2 separate regions of the Homo sapiens genome follow, and region 1 is linked to region 2. Evidence: promoter capture Hi-C in 16 types of primary human blood cells and fetal thymus (Javierre and others, 2016). All regions are on one chromosome and are shown on one strand. Each heading gives the region's core, a stretch centred on a gene start or on the middle of the fragment in contact. The rest is flanking DNA. Distances are from core to core; before and after follow the strand shown.

Region 1 (2,700 bases), core at 1-2,500, 610 kb before region 2:
ATGCAAAGCAAATATTCATCATAAAAGAATATGACTAGAAGCTACTTTTCATGGCGCTATTTTCATTTTCATGTTTTCAGTAGAATTTTAAAAATCCCTTTTCAGTAATAGAAGTGATACTCTAACATAAAGCCATAAATGCACTCCCAACATTGAATTCTAGTTATCTGCTTCTGTGTTTTTCCCTCCCTGCACTGTGAGCTACAGAACATAGAGAAGACCATATCCTACTCAACCTCATATCTCAGGTGCTAAGCACTGTGCCTGACCGAAGGAGCACTCGATGGATGTTTATCTAATAAAGTAAGAAAGGAAGAACAGCACACATCCAAAAATATTAAGCTGTTTCTATCTTCCTTGACAAAACAACCTTATGGCCAGGTGCGGTGACTCACGCCTGTAATCCCAGCACTTTGGGAGGCTGAGGCATGTGGATCACTTGAGGCCAGGAGTTCAAGACCAGCCTGGCCAACATGGTGAAACCCCAACTCTACTTTAAAAAAAAAAAAAGGAGCCAGGTGTAGTGGCACATGGCTATAATCCCAGCTACTCAGGAGGCTGAGGCAGGAGAACTGCTTGAACCTGGGAGGCAGAGGTTGCAATGAGCCAAGATCGCACCACTGCACTCTACTATGGGCAACAGAGTGAGACTCTGTCTCAAAAAAAAAAAAAAAAAAAAAAAACTGGGCGCAGTGGCTCAGGCCTGTAATTCCAGCACTTTGGGAGGCTGAGGCGGGTGGATCACTTGAGCCCAGAAGTTCAAAGCCAGCCTGGGCAACAAGGTAAAACCCAATCTCTCGGCTGGGCACGGTGGCTCACGCCTGTAATCCCAGCACTTTGGGAGGCCGAGGCGGGCGGATCACGAGGTCAGGAGATCGAGACCATCCCGGCTAAAACGGTGAAACCCCGTCTCTACTAAAAATACAAAAAATTAGCCGGGCGTAGTGGCGGGCGCCTGTAGTCCCAGCTACTTGGGAGGCTGAGGCAGGAGAATGGCGTGAACCCGGGAGGCGGAGCTTGCAGTGAGCCGAGATCGTGCCACTGTACTCCAGCCTGGGAGACAGAGCGAGACTCCGTCTCAAAAAAAAAAAAAAAAAAAACCCAATCTCTACCAAAAATACAAAAAACTAGCAGGGCATGGTGGCTCACTCCTGTGGTCCCAGCTACTGGGGGTAGGTGGGAGACTGAGGTGTGAGGATCACTTGAGCCCGGAGGTGGAGGTTTCAGTGAGCTGAGATCATGCCACTGCACTCCAGCATAGGTGACAGAGCAAGAGACTCTGTCTCAAAAAACAAAAAGAAAAAAGGAGAGAGGACCGGAATTGGAAAACTAAGCCTGTGGTTTAAAGGTAAGGGACATTGCTAAATAATGTAAGACCCAGTTCTTGCAGGGCATTAAATTATTCTCTGTAAAAAGAGCTTACAGCCTTAGAGAAAAAAATTCATGAACTATAGCTCTGGAACTATGAGTCCAGGACCCAGGAAGCCTGGTCTTTAGTCCAAGCTCAGTAGTTAACCTGTGTGATTCAGACAGTTGCTCAATCTCCCCGAGCTTCAACTTGACCTAACGATGATTTCTGTCATCTCCCCTCCACTTGCGCAGTCTATTCCTGCAGTGATGGTGTCATACCAGCCCATGGAACAGTGCCCATCAAACAAGGTACTTGTCAGTATTTACGTTTTTTTCCAGTGGTTAGTCATTTAAAGAATTATTTTGCATTACTAAAGCATGGATGCATGTATACTAATCCCTGGAACAAAAATGAGCATTTACTAAGTACCAAGCAGTCTGCTTAGCACTTTGCAGGTTTAAACTTCACAACTGGAAGTGGGCCAGAGGAGTTGAGTACCTTTCCCAAAGTCACACAGCTTGTGGATTATTAATTTGGGACTCTGAACTCAGGCTTTTCTGCCTGCAAAGGCCATGTTCTGAACCACTAGGCTGCATTGGAACAGAATACAGAACTTGCATAAAACATAAGAATTCTAAGAATTTTGTGGAAATGTTTAAGAAATCCTGACAGAATGGGATCTTTTATAAATTCACATTTCTCATTCCATCCATCCTGAATAGTGAAATCACTGATTTGGCTTTTCTCAATCTGTAACATCCCAAATCCCAATAAGTATTGCCTTGTTCATCAACACAAAGTTTGCACATACTTCGTGCAAAATTTAGTTCTGTTACTAAATCGAACTCATGAGAAGTTTTAATCCAGAATCTCAAAGTTCCTAATATGTTATCAGAGAAGATTTCGTACCCTAATAGAAACAAATTATTCATTATTCATATGTGCTTGAAAGTACTAATTGTGAGTGCTTTGAAGAGAAATTATCAAAAATATGTGGACTGTTTAAGTCAGACAACCAAAGAAAAAAACATAGTTTTGTGATTTGCCAAATTTGGCCCATTCGTTTAAGGCAGCCCAGGAATAGATTTAAACACATACACACACGAGCCAGCTGAAATTAATGTATATATATGTATATATTTAATGGGCTGATTTCTGGCCCTCTTATAGGATTCCCAAGAAGATAAGAAAAATAATTGCGTTCCTTAAGATAGAAAATGTGGATAAAATGGTAATGGCTTGCATAAAGCAAAGTTTAAATTTCTCTGTGGCTATAACTACTAATGAGCTGCTAATAGTAAAGGATATCTGTGTGTGAAAGCACATTCACAGGGTAAAACATTATATGT
Region 2 (2,711 bases), core at 208-2,707:
ACTTAATAACCCATGGGTAGCGGCAGCCTAGCAGCCTATGGAGTCCTGGGAGGGGGAAAGGGCCGCCAAAGCGTCTCATTGGAGGGCAGGGACCTGAGTCACAGTCTCCTGCCAGCCCTATAGCTGAATAGGGGTCCTGAGGAAGGTCCCACAGGTCCAGATGCAAGTCCAGGGAACAGGCTGAGAAGTTGATCTTGAGCTCCCAGCAGGGCCGCTGAGGGCCGATGCCCCATTCTCACCCTAGAAAGCGGCAGGCAGAGCTGGGCCTCAGGCAGATGTTGCCTAGGGGAGTGGGCAGGGAGCGTTGGCAGCGAGACAGCCAGTGTCCAGATGCAGGGGGAGGCCTTTGGGTGCGCAAGACAGCCAGCGGGGAGAAGGAGTGAGGAGCAGCCGTGGCTGGGGAGGTCAGACCCAAACGGGCAGCCACAGCGGGAAGCAATGGGGGTGGGGCACTGGGTGGCCTGCGGGCCCCAGAGGGCTCTCTCCTGGCCCACAGGCCTAGAAACTCTGGTCGTGGGAACCCAGCCCATCCGCCAAATTTGCCGCCTGCTCTCACACTCCCCAACACCAACAGACCCCAGGCCTGGGGGGTGCACATCCTGTCCCCCACCCCTCACACAGCCTGCGGCGCCCCGCTTCCCGCGCCGCTGCCGGCATTGACCTCCACAGCTCACCAGGGCACAGGTGTCTCTTCACCCTGATGGGTGAGCAAGGATGGGGGGCAATGCTCAGAGAAACCTCCCAGCCAGAGACCCCTCCAAGGGACCTCTTTCCCCGCCGAAGGATCTGAGTAGGGCCCTGCCCGGCTCCACGGGATGGGGGCGCTGATGTCCAGCCCCACAAAGCCCAGCCCCAACTCAGTGGGTCCTGCCCTTTGCCCTCGCGCTTCCAAACCTTCCGCCCCGGAGCACCGCCCCCTCGCCGGGCCACCGCGGCCGTCCCTCCCTCCCCGGTCCCTCGGCTCGTCCTCCCCGGGAACAGGGGTGATGGGACGTGGGGCCCGCACACCGGCGGCCGGGGCCTCCAACTCCCTCCCTTGGGCCTGTAGCTGCCCCGGGGCGGGCGGATGTGGGCGCCCCGCGGGAGGCCCGAGCCCTCCGGCCCCCGGAACCAGCTCCGACCCGGAGCCTGCCAGAGCCCCGCGGAGCCGGGCGGGACAGGCGCGGTCGGGGGGCGCAAGCCGGGCTGGGCCCGCGGGGCTGGCGGGAGCCCGAGCCGGAGCCGGAGCCGGAGCCGGGGCCAGGGCCGGAGGCCGAGCCTGGGCGGGCGACGCTGGGTGCCGCGCGCAGGGCGGGGCGGGGGGCGGCCGCCCAGTACTCACCAGCGCCGGGGCTGTGCATCCAGGGGCCGGGGCCCTCAGAGCGGGGGGCTCATGGCGGGGCGGGGGGCTGGGGCGCCGGCCTCACATCCCCCCAGTCGCCGGAGGCTGCAGAGCGACTGTGAGACGGCGAGAGGAAGGGAGGGGGCCGGGAGGGGGAGGGCCCTGGCAGCCCGGCCGGCCGGGTAGGATGACAATGGAAGGAAATGCTTTATCTGAGTCTGAGAGCGGGCCAAGGGGGAGGGGAGGGAGGGGGCAGGCGCTCGCGGCCCTGGGACACACCACCCCGGCAGACACTGCACCGCGCGGCGCACAGGCGGGCCGCAGACACCGCGCGCGGCCAGATCGCGGCGGGGCGCGGCGCACTGCCGGGGAGGCAGCGCCGAACCCGGAACGCCGGCCGCGGCTCCGAGCCCCAGCCGCCGCGAGGCGCTCCGAGCCGTGCACAATTCCCGGAAACCCAGCTACCTGGGCGCACGCACCCTCGCATACACAACGTACACGAGCACGCATCCATGTTTACAAGGGGCAGAATCATTTACACAGCACACACTGGGGCTTCGGGGTGGACCCCCGTGCACACACTACATACCCGTACAGCCCACAAGCACGCAGCCACACGCGGGCACAGTGGGACACGCGTGGTGTCCCATGTCCCATACAAGGAATCCCAGACGGACACCCCCCACCACACACACACACACATAAGCACGACTTGCCTCAGGAAAGTTCCAGGATCTGATTTGAATCACTGCCCAGCCCTCCCCCACTGGCACCCCCACACACACACCATGCCTGCTGAGGGGAACGGAAGGGTCCAGCCTGTTCCTATTAAAAGAAAAAGGGTGTGGGGGTGGTGCAGATTTTGAAAGTTTTCTTTTTTTAAAGAAATTTCTCAAGGGACTTCCTTCCCTCCTCTCCTCTTCCTCTCTTCCTCCCATTCCTCTCCCTCCACAACCCCCCTCTTTCCCCCTCCCGGTCCCTATGAGTCAAACTTCAGCAATGTGCCCAGTGTCCCCCAGTGCATTACAGCGGATCACAGAAATGTTCCAGTCTGTGAGTCGGAATGCAGCCGCCTCCAGCCCTCCCTCAGCTAATAAACTCAGCTCAGGGCCGGCTTTAGGCAGTGGCCCTCCCTGCCTCTCCCTCCGCTTTTAGCTGGAGAGAAGGTCAGATTCAGGGGTCAGGGGCTAAGGACCTCGCCATTGTGCTTCCTGGGCTAGCCGGTCAGCCGTGTCTGCCTCCAGCAATCTGGAGCTGCTCCTAGGAAGGGGAGAGGTCCACCACGCAGGAACACTGGGCTCTCTGCAGCGTGAGGCGCCACCATTGTAAACCAAGGAGCAGCTTCCCCTGACCCCATTCTATCTCCCGCAATCCTAAGAAACCCCAAGAA

What was found. Contacts are between HindIII fragments. The CHiCAGO score rates a contact against its expected background, and 5 or more counts as called.
Region 1: a contact is called between a fragment that was not itself captured here and the fragment with the promoter of HDAC7 in region 2, in 1 of 17 cell types (non-activated CD4 T cells). The highest score is 5.1, in non-activated CD4 T cells.

Annotation. Positions count from the first base shown.
Region 1 is chr12:47,210,995-47,213,694 of GRCh38, forward strand. The region is part of intron 2 of PCED1B (PC-esterase domain containing 1B); the gene reads left to right. The region is part of intron 2 of PCED1B-AS1 (PCED1B antisense RNA 1); the gene reads right to left. Among named protein-coding and RNA genes, the nearest start is that of PCED1B-AS1, 4.1 kb to the right of the region's middle. The HindIII fragment of the contact is 8,343 bases long and covers 1-2,700 here.
Region 2 is chr12:47,818,446-47,821,156 of GRCh38, forward strand. It overlaps HDAC7 (histone deacetylase 7), which reads right to left and starts at 1,458. Exons shown (of 26, transcript NM_015401.5): 1 at 1,322-1,458. The coding sequence starts at 1,340. RefSeq lists enhancers at 387-960, 2,299-2,711 and silencers at 869-1,178, 1,189-1,268, 1,409-1,748. The HindIII fragment of the contact is 23,145 bases long and covers 1-2,711 here.